2 separate regions of the Homo sapiens genome follow, and region 2 is linked to region 1. Evidence: promoter capture Hi-C in 16 types of primary human blood cells and fetal thymus (Javierre and others, 2016). All regions are on one chromosome and are shown on one strand. Each heading gives the region's core, a stretch centred on a gene start or on the middle of the fragment in contact. The rest is flanking DNA. Distances are from core to core; before and after follow the strand shown. Region 1 holds the start of KIAA0319. Region 2 has its middle 110 kb from the start of CARMIL1.

Region 1 (7,678 bases), core at 2,342-4,841:
TTCTGATGCTTAATAGCATGGAATGACCCCAACTTTGAAAATTCATTTTTAGGCCTGAATTATCCTCTTATTCAAGCTACATTGCTTAAATTAAATAGATGCTTACTATAATCCTTTGCTGCATTTTTTTTTTTTTTGAATTAGAGTCTTGCTCTGTGGCCCAGGCTGGAGTGCAGTGAGGCAATCTGGGCTCACCGCAACCTCCGCCTCCCGGAGTTCAAGTGATTCGCCTGCCTCAGCTGGGATTACAGGCGCCCACCACTATGCCTGGCTAATTTTTGTATTTTTAGTAGAGATGGGGTTTCACCATGTTGGCCAGGCTGGTCTCGAACTCCTGACCTCAGGTGATCCGTCCATTTCGGACTCCCAAAGTGCTGGGATTATAGGCATGAGCCACCGCGTTCCCAGCCTCCTTTGCTTTTTTGAACTTAAGGAAAAGAATGACCAGCAAGTTGGCAGGCAGGATAATTCTACAATATTATTTAGAAGGAAAAATAACTAAAACTTGAACACTATTATCTTTACCTACTGGTGTCATTTAAGCAGCTCTACTTTAAAACTTAAACACCTACTGTTAAAAGACCCTGCAAAATGATGATGCCAGATGTTACTCTGGCTCAACCATTTTTATTGTTTAATACAAATAAATGAGAAAATATTTTCTTATTATTGAATTCACATGAATAGTGTCTAAAGGTACAGATTTTTAAAGACAAATAGAAAAATAACCTACACTATTCGGGTAATGGGTACACTAAAAGCCCAGACTTTGACACTACACAATATATCCACATAACAAAACTGCACTTGTACACTCTAAATCTATAAAAAAAATTTTAAAAACAAATAGAAAAATAACCTACCAATTATTCTAGGCCTACTAAAGCAAAGCTCCTTCCTTGGGGGTATTAAGCTACCAGAATATTAAATTGACATGATTTTATGATTTTGATTATTATATTTATTATTGTTGCTGTTATAAAGGTGCTGCAAGGAAAAATTTATGCATTTTATGATGATTTGATATCATAAATCAGAACAAGCTTTGGACATGTCAAAATAAATCTATTTTTTAGTACCAAATTATTTTTAAGGTATGAAAAATATTTCCTGAAAAAGAACACATCTCAAAAATAACAACACTTATTGAAGCGTTACTATTAAAACATGCCAGGCAATGAGCAAAGATCTCTTAAACATATTATTGTATTTAATTCTTACAGGAATTTCGTTAAGTAGGTCCCATTGTTATCTCTATTTTACAGGTGAGGAAACTGAGCCTTAGAGGGTTTAGAGAATTTGCCAAATGTGAGACAGCCACTAAGTGGCAGAGCCACGCCCAAACCCACACCCTCTGACCTGGCAATCTGCAGCACTCCGTTCCAGAAACGGGCATACCTGGCTCTACATACAGCAGTGCCTCAATAACATAGTTTCATTCAACGTTGGTGACAAAAAAATTCCTGGCCAGGGCCACTGTCTATGTGGAGTCTGCTCATTCTCCTCATGTCTGCGTGGGTTTTCTCTGGGCTTCGGTTTCCTTCACATCCCAAAGCTGTGCATATGTCTACATGGTCCCCGTCTGAGTGAGTGGGTGTGTCTGTGAAAGTGCACCCTGTGATGGGATAGCTTCCTGGACAGGGGAGAGGGGGGGGTTCCCACTCTGAACCAGGGAGACTCTGGCTACCCATGACCTTGAACTGTAATAATTGGGTAAATAATGATCTTGTTTTTACTAATCCTTCTTAACTGTATGTATAGATCCCATTTATTTCTATGTTTAATATTAGAAGTGTTGTGGTCTTTATTTAGAAGTTTGGTGATTTTTTTATGACCAGAAATATGCTGTAGGAACTTAACTCTTGTTTATATCAATTAGCCTGTGGTAAAATTGGTTTCCTTATACCTCGTTGTGCTTAAAGGTTCACAGTTTCCAAGAACGTATCAAGAATGTTAAGTGAGGACTTACTGTATTTATTTAAAGAGAATGCTTCCTATCTATTGGCTAGGGAAAAAAAAAAAGTCAAGAAAATTTAACAGCAACTCTATTCTTTTACATTCATACATTACCAAAGCTCTCTTTTGGCTATTTTTAATTCATAAAGATTTTGGCTGAATTATTTTCATTATTTCGAAACAAAAATTAAGTTCTTGCCTCGGCATTTTGCATTACAAATGCAAATGCATTACAAATGGTTAATACAAATAAATCAGAGTACTTAGGTAATATGTTTACATTTCCCTTTTTCAAATTACAGAGGAATTCACCTTTCTCTGTGACTCCTACGTCTATAACTGAACTGACACCTCCAGTTTTCCTCATCTGAATTAAAAATAATACTAAAAAAAGCACAAAATAAAAGTTTAGATTTGGCATAACTTTAGTAGTCTCTACAATTGTGGTCTTCTTATAATAAATTGAAGCATTTGGAAAGTGAGCATGTATTTCAGGAATAAAGAAATAAATACCAACATTTACTTCCAAAATTCTTGTGTGTGGGGGGGAACATTGTCTACAATTTATTTTTTCTGTTACTATCAAAAACATCATTCAACTTTTCAATTCAAGCAGTGGAAAAAATACTAACATTTCACCGACAAACAAAAATGTTTTGATGAACAAACCAGCAATAAAAGTGCACATGAGTATGTATATCATATTTTTCCTCCTTGTATTTAATTAACAAATGACCTTAAGATGATAACTCTCAAAATTTCAGGTTTATCCTCCCGATTAATTTGTGACATTCCTTGGAGGGAATTCAAAGGGAAGAAGAGAAAGATTTTAAGCTTCAGGTTATGGTAAGGAACAGAGACAAAATGCATTTAGCAAATAATAGGAAAGATCACATAAATAGTTCTGAATGAAGTTTAAAGAAAACGATTCCTTACTTCTAAAAAAATGCAATTCGTGAGGTTGGGAAAAGACACTCAAATTTCCCCGACTCCACCCTACTAGTCAACAATCAGTGCAGCAATCAAAAAATGCCCTTTCCTGAATGCCCAGAAGAATCTTAAGAAACTCACCTTCTGAACTCAGGGCGTCTCGATTCTACTTTTGTTGGGTATTGGCCTGCCTACTGGCTGCCCTCTTTCCTATTTCTCGGCCAGGCGCTCTGGGAAGTAGATACCGTACCTGTGGTCACTGCTGGCGACACTGAAGCTCGCCCCATGCGTTGCTGCTGGCCCTGAGCATCACTCGCCGTCCCACTTGTTCCTCCTCGTCGTCATCGCAGGTCTTACACACACACACACACACACACACACACACACACACACACACACACACGTTCACACCCTCGCGCGCGCACCTGCTGTTAAGAGGTACAGCCCCACCCCAGCAAAATCCTCGCTTCCTCTTCCCCGGGACGTAGCCCCAGAGGAGCGAATCTGGACCAAGCCCAAGACAGGCTGAAGCTACTGCTGCGCTCTCACCTCCGGCAGTGACAGCGAGCGCCGCCGCCGCTCTGCGCGGGGCCAGCCAGGCCCGCCGAGGGCAGCACAGGTGGAGCAAGGTTGCACCCCCGGGGGATCCCCGCCCACCGCCCGCGGCAGCTTCTGCAGGCTCGGGGAAAGCGCGCGCCAGTGATTCAGCGCCTTTCCGCCGCCGCGGTTACCACGGCGACGCGCGCGCACGCGCACACACGCCCTCAGGGATGTGGGGCGCGGCAGCCGCCCCTGCCCAGCTCCCCTGCTCAGCTCCCCTGCTCAGCTCCCCGGTTGCGCTCTAAGTACCCGCACCGGGGCGACACACTCCCACCCCGCAGGGGACCAAGCAAAAGTCTTTCGTGAACCTGAGCGGCCTTCATACCCTACCTGCTTTCCTTCACCAAGCCCTTCCCTGTCACCGTGGCCCTAAACAGTCTGGGGGATGAACACTCCTTCCAAATAAACACCCGGGCCAGGGTGGCTCAAGGGAGCCGTGGGTGCACTGCCTGGGTCAAACACCCTTCGCGAATGTGTCCCCCAGCTTGTCCCCAGCTTGTGTCACCCCAGCTACACAAGTTCCATTCTTCCAGTGGGAGTCTCTTTGGCCCCTACTCTGTAATTATCTTTCTATTTTGAGCAGGTGCTTTCTGACTGAGACTGGGAACCTGTGCTAGGAGGGGCTCCCATCACCTCCAGGCCTTGCAGGTTAACTGGATGCCCAGTATAGTTTGACATTTGCATCTTGAGGAACGTGATAATCTAAACCACAGAAAACTTGGGTGGAAGACTCTTGCATTTTTACTGTTTTAATAAAGATGCGAAAGCATCTAGGGATAATATCATGAGCAGAAAAGGTAGCCAGGGCATTCCTCGCACATCTCATTACTAGGAGGTATAAGTGCAGTGCTTAGGGCTGAGTCACACACTGTTGATGAATAAGCTTCTTGGCTACTCGTATTTACCGAAGAGCCTCAGACAAGTTACCTAATCTAGATAAACCTGTTTCCTCAATTATAAAATGAAGATAATAGCATTCATATAGGATGATTCTGGGAATCAAATAAGATAATGCACATTTAAAGAGTAAAAACCAGCTGGGTGCGGTGGCTCACGCCTGTAATCCTAGCACTTTGGCAGGCCGAGGCGGGCGGATCACGAGGTCAGGAGATCGAGACCATTCTGGCTAACACGGTGAAACCCCCGTCTCTACTAAAAATACAAAAAATTAACCGGGAGTGGTGGCCCGCGCCTGTAGTTCCAGCTACTTGAGAGGCTGAGGCAGGAGAATCGCTTGAATCCAGGAGGCGGAGGTTGCAGTGAGCCGAGATCGTGCCACTGCACTCCAGCCTGGGCGACAGAGCAAGACTCCGTCTCAAAATAAATAAATAAATAAATAAATAAATAAATAAATAAATAAATAAATAAATAAAAACTAAAGAGTAAAAACCTGTCCAGGACTCAAAGAGTGAAAATCAGCTTGGACTTGGAAAAGTTAGTACTGCCAATGATCAATGATCAGGCTGAGAGGACAAAGTCAGAAGCAAAATTAACAGGCAATGTTGTTTCCTCTGAAGTCACGCAGCAGGTACAAAACAACACAACTCCTTGTGTTCCATTTTTGAATGACTACTACTTTCTACCTTTGCTTTACTATTCCCATCCATAACTGGGGATACCCAATTGCTAAACTCCCTTCACCTCCTGACAGCACCCAATCCCTCATTAATCCCCCTTTCTCTCAATCTGCCTCAGAAACAGCAACCAACTGGATCCCAGCTCTGATTCCAAGACTCTCCCTGGAATCCTTTAATAGGAAGCCAAATCTTTACAAAAGACACTTCCTCCTTTCTGTGCTCACATGGCATTCCACAGGTACTCTTTCAATGCATCAAGCCAATGAATCTGATTTTGTCCCCAACGATCCTTGGCTGATTAGCCTTTAAAGAAACATATTTTTAGCACATACACACACACACAGGCTTAGCCCAGAATGTTTAACTATACCATCTTTTTAACTCAGAGACACTGTAATGAATATCTATTTTCATTTTTAATGAATATATCTATTTTGGTATTGTATGAAAATGTTAGTCTCCTTCTTTAGGACACAGATGTGAGGCTACTACCTTTCACTTCTTTTCAGCATTCAGTGGACATCCATTGAGCTCCTACTATATGCCAGACACTGCAAGAGGTAGTAAGGATAAAATGATGTATCCTTAGTATAATTAACTTTGTCTGCTCTTGCTTATGCTTTTGGTTGGGACATTTGTACAATAAAAGATAACTTATTTTGAGGGTGGGTAAAACTGAGGTTTAGGAAGGTTAAAGTACATTCCACATCAGTGGTAAAAATGGTGCTTAGCGTAATGACAGTGCTGCCTCATTGAAATACAAGACTTTAGGCCACGTACAGTGGCTCATGCCTATAATCCCAGCACTTTGTGGGCGAGGCAGGAGGATTGAGTGAGCCCCGGAGTTCGAGGCCAGCCTGGGCAACATAGCAAGATCCTCTCTGTACAAAAAACAAAAACAAATAAAAAGTAGCTGGGTGTGTGGTGCACACCTGTAATCCCAGCTACCCAAGAGTCTGAGGCTAGAGGATCACTTGTGCCCAGGAGGTTGAGACTGAAAAAAAAAAAAAAAAAAACCCAGAAGATTCTATGTTGGAATTTCACTAAGCAGGAAGGTAAGGCAAGCAAAGCTACTACACTGGAAAAACTTTGAAAAATTCCAAGTAAAAAACTCAAGATATAGCAAATTAGTAGGTTAATTCATTGATAACTATTGCTCATGAAAGCAGACTAAAAGTGGTTTTTTTTGAGACAGTCTTGCTCTGTCGCCCAGGCTGGAGTGCAGTGGCACGATCTCGGCTTACTGCAACCTCCGCCTCCCAGGGTCAAGTGATTCTCCTGCCTCAGCCTCCTGAGTAGCTTGGATTACAGGCACGTGTCACCACGCCTGGCTAATTTTTGTATTTTTAGTAGAGATGGGGTTTCACCATGTTGGCTAGACGAGTCTTGAACTTCTGACCTCAGGTGATCCACCTGCCTCGGCCTCCCAAAGTGCTGGGATTACAGGCATGAGCCACTGCACCCAGCCGATAATCCTTTATTTAATCTAGTATACTACACTGTATTTTTTTTTTAAGAATTTAGACTTTCACCCATCTATGTTTTGCAATGTGATCTGAAGTTCTAACTTAGCTCTTCTAAATGAAAGCAATTTATGCCAGAATAACCCTTTTCCCACAGAAATGTACTATTGTATTACCTCTATGATGTATGCTACTCTACTATTAACATCTATTCTCATTTTTTATTTTATTTTTGAGATGGAGTCTCACTCTGTTGCCCAGGCTGGAGTGCAGTGGCACGATCTTGGCTCACTGCAAGTTCTGCTTCCTGGGTTCGTGCCATTCTCCTGCCTCAGCCTCCTGAGTAGCTGGGACTACAAGCACTCGCCATCACGTCCGGCTAATTTTTTGTATTTTTAGTAGAGACAGGGTTTCACCGTGTTAGCCAGGATGGTCTCGATCTCCTGACCTCGTGATCCACCCGCCTCAGCCTCCCAAAGTGCTGGGATTACAGGTGTGAGCCACTGCACCCGGCCCTCATTTTTTATTTTTAATGATTAAAATTATGATTAACATTTAAACTTTTTCGTTGTCACTACAAAGGGAATATTATATATAAATATCTTTTTTTAGGTGTTTAAATTTTGGCACTCCTGATATAAATAAGATTCTATTACTTCTAATTATTCTCGCTGGCTTTTTTTCAGACAAAGGAAGCAGATATATTCTTGGTAATTCTTGGTGGAGTGAGAAGCAAATGGAAATCTGTTTTCTTCTACACAAAGAGGAAGAAGCAGCAGTAGAGCCAGAAGCAGGAAGCAGATAAAAAATTTAATCTCATCATGGACACAAAAACATACTAAAACAAACCATAAACAAATAAAATTCTTTATTTAAATTTCTCTTGTGGGGAAAATATTTTTCTTTAAAGCACACTTAAAAGTAATTTGCATTTACTTCCTGTAAAGCATTTCCATTTCACAATTAGCAAAACTAAAAGGCTATGTCTCTTCATGCATTTATTTTTGTTAGAAAAATGTCCCATGGTGCTATCAAACCGATTTTAACCATCATCAAGCTTAACTTTGCCTCTGTTGACAACATGACTACAAACATGAATCAAAAAGGAGTTAAGGAATTTTAAGCCATAAGGTTTCAATTATAGCTTACCAA
Region 2 (6,660 bases), core at 2,781-5,280, 520 kb after region 1:
ACCGTGACACAGCCTCACATCACTTTCTCTCTCATCACTTTCAAACTGATTTTTTTTTTTTTTGAGATGGAATCTTGCTCTGTCACCCAGGCTGGAGGGCAGTGGCGTGGTCTCAGCTCACTGCAACCTCCGCTTCCCGGGTTCACACCGTTCTCCTGCCTCAGCCTCCTGAGTAGCTGGGACTACAGGCGCCCGCCACCACGCCTGGCTAATTTTTTGGTTTTTTTTTTTGGTATTTTTAGTAGAGACGGGGTTTCACCGTGTTAGCCAGGATGCTCTCGATCTCCTGACCTCATGATCCACCCGCCTCGGCCTCCCAGAGTGCTGGGATTACAGGCGTGAGCCACCGCGCTCAGCCAATAATTTCATTTTTAATTATGAGGTTGGTTGATTAATATCTGTGTCCCCTAGAAAACTGTAAGCTATGCAAGGGAAGGAACCAAGTTTGTTTTAGGTTTCCGTTGCACCCCCACAGCCTAGCGCACATGAGGATTTCAACAAATATTTGTTGAGAGAATAAATCAACATTGAAACTAATGGCTCACAACAGTCATTCTTACAACCCTTTTTATAAACCTGAGATTTAAACATGTCACCACTCCTAAAATATCTTTAGAACAGCTTTATATTTACTTGAGAACTAGAACTTAGCAAAATGTTATAATAATATGTGTTTAATTAAATATACTACAGAAAGCACCCCCCCCTTTATGACTAGGTAGTGGTCTAAATGTTTATTTTATACTGCACTTGATATTTTCCCATAAAAACAAGTTGCGAATGGCAAGTAAGTTCTAACCAGCCCACAAAAATCTTACTTACCCCATGAAGTAGTCAACATTGTATTGATTGGAGCTTTAAGACTAACTGCACTTTTGATCCATGAATTCAGTGTACCATTTAGTCCAGAGCACCCCTCAAGTCCAAACCCTGGGTCTTCCATGCCCATTCAGCCTTTAGTATCTCTCTGGATCCTAAAGCTTTCTGAGACCTGAGCAAAGCAGTAAGTAATGTCTTGACAGAAGGAAAGCTCCAAAAACAAGATCTGCTAGCAGCCACAGAAAAAAGAAGGGAAGTATACAGAAAAGGCAGTGTTGCTGATAAGGGGGTTGGGTAAAGTGGACAGGGTTGCAGAGAGGGCTCAAGCAGATAGAATATCAAGGGTAAGCAGGGTGCGATACAAGCAAGTTCTATACCCAAGTAACTGAGTGAATTGTAAATCAGGTGTTCTGAAGATGGCAAACACTATATATTTGAAAACTGTTTTAACATCCTAAATCCCTCCCCATCCCCCAGCAAGAACTCTCAATTCTTATATCTAGTTACAGAAGACGTGAAGACAAACCATCAAAAATAAATATCCTAAATTCAGTAGAAAAACAATACACACCATACCTTTGTTCCATTCCGAGTAGGCAGGGGCCAAACAGCACAAGAGCAGCTCCCCAGAGAAAGCTGAAATGGAGTGAGGTTGAAATCTTCTTTTAAATAACGTTTAAAACTTCTAGAAAGGTTGCAGCCTGAACAATTCAATTTGCTTGGTAACAAATTTAATCAGATTTTATTGTAGCCAGAAAACCTTTCCGAAAGTAATTACGAGAGCACAGCAGGCAAGAGCACAGCAGGCGAGTCAGACTTCTGGTGACATGAACACTCAGCCTGCTGATATGAATTTCAGTTGTCTTCATATATCTGCCAACCTTACCATTACCCTCCCAGCTCCACCCACAGAGCCTAGCAAAGAGCACTTCAGATAAACTCTGAATTCCCCACCAGCACAGGAGTATGAAGTGTGTACTTTAGATAAACTCCGAATTCCCCACCAGCACAGGAGTATGAAGGGTGTGTGTGTGTGTGTGTGTGTGTGTGTGTGTGTGTGTGTGTATGTGTTCATACATGTGTGTCTGAAAGCACATGTATGTTTTTGCAGATACATGAATGTAGTGTCAGAGGAGAAAATATTAAGGAGAACTTAATATATCACTCCCTAATTTTTTGTATCCTTCTGTAAGTCATCCTGTCATAAACACAGATTTTGGTTTTCTTTGTAATATAATAAGAATTGCTTTGTTGTAAAAGAAAAGACCTCTGTATAGTATTTCCCACCGGGGCATACAGTTTAGGCCTGGCCTCTGTTCCTTCCCGATCCCTACCCTCCCCTGACTGTACTGTCCTCTCAACCCTGAGGGCTCAGACTAGTGGGAATTCAGAATCCAAGTCTAAATCTCTTCAGACATCTGTATGCCACTTGGTTTATTTTCCCCAGTTTGATAAATATCCTGTCTTGCCCAGTCACTGTTTCAGCTCTAGCAAGCAGGTGTTCTATGTTTCTTTAAACAAACACAATACAGTGAAGAACTAGCTGGCATTGTGCCTGCCCAGGTATTTTCAAAAACTCACCTTAAGTCCTCCCCGCTTCATTAAAATCAATTCCTCCTTTTCCCACTGAGTGCTCTTTCTCCTGAATCCCTGGAGAATTCTGTGCCTCAAAATTTGCACTTAAAAAAAAAAAAAAGCAACACTAAATTCTCTTTTATGTTAGTCTTGTCTCTCCAACTAGATTATAAGTTTCCGAAGCACTGGCAATGTGACTTTGAACTTGTATTTACCACAACGTTTAAAATTCTGTGTAGGAAACAACTAAGCAATTCTCACGAAACAGCAAGAGGACAGTTGTAACCACATCTTATTCTAGTTGGAGAAATGTCTGATAGTAGGATAAAGGAAGAAAAGACTGCTATGTAGAGCAATTCTTCTAAGTAACACCTGCCCTCAAAATATCCTTTTCCTCTCCAAATCAAGAAGGTCTCTCAAATTATTCCTTCCCTAGTTCTAGATGACATCACATGACATTTTTTAAAGTGAGGTATGACTTACATATAGTAATGTGCACTAATCTTGAATGTATAGCTCTATGACTTTTTTACGCAGGTATACATTCATGTAACTACCTCCCACATCAAGATATAGAAAATTTCTAGGACTCCAGCTAACTCCTTCCCAGTCAACATCCACTCAAATGATAGCCACTCCTCTAATCTGTATCACCACAGACTGGTTATGCCTACTCTTAAATTTTGTATAAATGGAATCATATGCTGTTTTGTATCTGGCCTCTTTCTCCTACCATTATGATTGTGGGATTTATCCATATTGTAAACATATTTCATGTTATGTGCATATTTTATTGCATGTTAAATAAATTCTACGTAAGCCTCACATAGGAAAAGAAAGCAGGAAACCACCAGAAGGAACTGAACCCTGAGATGCACAATTGCTTAGGGAACCCACAGGATTTGCCAACATTGAGAAAAATAGACCTCTGATTAGAAATAAAAGCCATCTATTTTCTCTTATACAAGAAACATTAGACATATGGGAAAAATTAGCTGCCAGAAATAAGCTGAACAATCAGGGCAAAGATATCTTTCTGCAAGATAGATTTAGTAAAGAAAACAAGGAAGAATTTTCAGAAAAAGAAATTTAGTGCATCAAGGAATAAAAAGGGATTATAATAGCAGGAACCTGAATTCTCTGAAGGAGAGAACAGGTGTGGCAACATCTTTTTGACTTAAATATCAGATAGAAACAAAGAGGACTTTAGAATTCAGGTAAAGGGAGTTCTGTCTGGAAGATAAGAAAGGCAGAGAACAGAGGCCCTTTCTCTTTTTTGATTTCCAACTTTTAAGTTCAGGGGTACATGTTCAGGATGTGCAGGTTTGTTACACAGGTAAACACGTGCCATGGCAGGTACTGCACAGACCATCCCATCACCTAGGTACTAAGCCCTGCTAGCATCCATTAGTGATTCTTCCTTTCAACAGGACAGAAGAGGAGCCTTGTTAGTAAGGTGGTAGGTGACAAATCCCTGGTAATGGGGCAGATGGAGGACTTTTTAAAACACATGAATACTCTCTGGAGAGCTGTGACGCCACCCTTTTCGCCACCTCAGACCTTCAGCAAAGTGTGTCCACACAAGGTGAATGGAATGAAAGAATGCCATTTGGGGAACACAAAGGAAAACGATGTGTTCCATGTCTGCACCAGGACAGGCTGTAAGAACAGACTCTAAGAAGAGGTACAATTAGGAAATCTAGGACAAAGAAAATTGGACCTAGGTGGGGACCAAGTACAAAACCTCTTGGAATTGAAAAGAAAAAAAAAAAACAGGAGTTAGGGGAGGCATTAAACTTCCCATCAAGAATGGGATGAAGAGCCAGACATTTTATTTAAATCTCAAAGGGAGGGGTAATTTTCAGGAAGGTGTCACATAAATGAAAAGGGGTAACAAAAAAGGAGAGAACAAAAGGATTTTTCCAGTAAAATCATGGGCGCCAAAACAAAACAAAAAAATAGTGGAGATCTTAAGTAGCAGAATAATATGCCAAAAACCAAACCTGGCAACTGTGAAACAGATAACCAATTTAAGGAATCTCCTAAAAAACAGAGAAGTTATGAAAGAAAATTAAGAAACAGGAAGAATAATATATGATAACTTCTACATAACAGAAATTCCAGAAAACAAATGAAGGAATGATCAAGAATAAGTTAACATTTTTCTCAATAGAAGAAAATCTAGATTTCATATTTAAAGAATCTAAGGATTGTTGGGCAGGAATACTGAAAAAAGCCATATTACAGATAATCTGTTGAAATTTGTAAATGACAGAAAAGAATCCTACAAGAAATCCTACAAACTTCCAGAACACTCCCCCACCCTCCTCACACTCACTTCTCCCAACAAAAGACACTCCAACACCTTCACCAAAATCAGGTGTCTGCCAAGTGCAAAGAAACCAGTGGACATTGCTCTCTTATTTGGAAATAAAATGCCAGGAGACCCAATGGAGTGATGTTTACAGAATTCTGAGGGAGAATTCTACAGCCAAATGGTGACTCAAGTGTGGCTGTAAAAATAAAGGCCTTTTCAGACTTGTAAGGACTCTGAACACACAATTTCCAACTGTGGTCTCAGAAATCAGTTCCACAGTATACTGTTCCCCTCAGCCTCAGAGTCTTTGGTGAATCTCCAGGTGACAGAGAGTTTCATCTCCCAAAGAGGCCCTCCAGTCTTCTCTGGTAAAGGTTTTAGATACTCTCGCCTTCCCAGACATCTGAGCTTCATTTTCTCCTGTGTCTCCAGAGCTCTTTTTGCTTTTTTTTTTTTCCCTTCTATTCTGTCCGACCTTAGCTATTACTGTTTTTCAGGTGTCCTTGACTCACCATTCTCTTATTACAGAGACTACGTCTGTCTTACTCATTTGTTTCCAAAACCTCCTCGAGTAAAAAGAGGAATTTGCTGGAAGGGTCTGGGGAGATCTCGAAAAACCCAGCATAGAAACCTTAGCCCATCTGGCCTCATGCAAGGCCGGAGTCTCAGGCTCTAATGTCAGCACTAGAGAAAAACACGTATCTTCCTTCTCTTCCTGTGTCTCCATGGTGTGGGAGAGGAGGGAAGAAGAACTAACCTGAACGGCCAGCCACAGGCATTCACAGGGTCAGGTGCATGGTGGGCAGGGCCACTGAGCTGAGTAGCATCTTCTACGTCTGTGTTCCACCCAGGAGTGGGGGCAGTGAGGGGAGCAGGCCTGGAGATTTTAGGCTACTGGTGGGCCTCAGAATCTCCTCTGCAAGGACTTTAGAACTTCCAAGTCTCAAAACAGAAATCCAGAATGGGTAGTAGAAGACCCCTCTTAAGCCTCTAAGTCATGTACTCTGTCTTTTATCAAAGAAGGCTACACTGGGATTTTTAAGATATTGTGCTGATTAATAAAAATCATTCTTTCCACCCATTTGCAACTGAGTCTTTGTGTGGGTGCCTGCCTTAATTTCTAGAACCTAGAGAACTCTCTCCCTAAGTAGCCTTAGTGAAACCTGAATTCTTTCTAGGACTGTGCTAGATTTTGGAAGGCAAGCACTACACTATCTTCTTTTTGTTGCTCATATCTGGCCAAGAGCCTAGATCAGTGGTACACAGTAAATGTTTAATAAATGTTGATCAGCAAACAATATCTTAGCATATTCATTTCTTGGAAGTATTAACTAGTTTGCTTTTGTAACACCTTTTAGTCCAGCTTTCATTTTCCATTTTCCCTTCCTGAAAACACTCAAAGGCCATTTCTGTCTCATTTTATCATTCCTGGAAGAATATCACCCAAGTATATCAGGCAGTTTTAAGTCTTTTCAAAATTCATGGAAATAAGTATGGAATAATTTTTACCAGCCAATATTAATGGCAGTGCAGAAGAAAAATACAAATGCAATATAATTGTTTCACTGAATTTCTTAATTTTTATGTCTGTGTTAAATTTAACAGCAACTGAGTGGGGAAAGATTTCAGGTCATCTTTTCATTGTTCCATTCATGGCCTGTGCAGATAAGTTGCATCAGATCTGATGAGAAGTAGACTCAAATGAGTGAGCACTGTTTCTCTTCTTGTGGGGTGCTGCTGTGGGGTTCATCTTTCTTTCTAGACCAAGGAGATAGCTAAGAAGGAGAGAATTCACTGTGGTAGTTCTTGACTTGCATGTTGTAGGTTGCTCTTTATCTCCACCATGACTGATTTTAGCCTAGGGCTTTGGATCAGGCATAAACAGCCAAAGTTACTAACCTAACAGGCCAGACAGCTTTGCCATTTCATAGTTCTCATTTAAAAAATCT

What was found. The method cuts DNA at HindIII sites, captures the fragments that hold promoters and counts their contacts. A CHiCAGO score of 5 or more calls a contact.
Region 2: a contact is called between a fragment that was not itself captured here and the fragment with the promoter of KIAA0319 in region 1, in 1 of 17 cell types (neutrophils). The highest score is 6.1, in neutrophils.

What each region holds. Positions count from the first base shown.
Region 1 is chr6:24,642,600-24,650,277 of GRCh38, forward strand. It overlaps KIAA0319, which reads right to left and starts at 3,592. Exons shown (of 21, transcript NM_014809.4): 1 at 3,137-3,592. TDP2 (tyrosyl-DNA phosphodiesterase 2) reads right to left here. Exons shown (of 7, transcript NM_016614.3): 7 at 7,380-7,678. RefSeq lists a silencer at 3,437-3,646. The HindIII fragment of the contact is 1,579 bases long and covers 2,789-4,367 here.
Region 2 is chr6:25,164,895-25,171,554 of GRCh38, forward strand. No RefSeq gene overlaps it. Among named protein-coding and RNA genes, the nearest start is that of CARMIL1, 110 kb to the right of the region's middle. The HindIII fragment of the contact is 6,105 bases long and covers 979-6,660 here.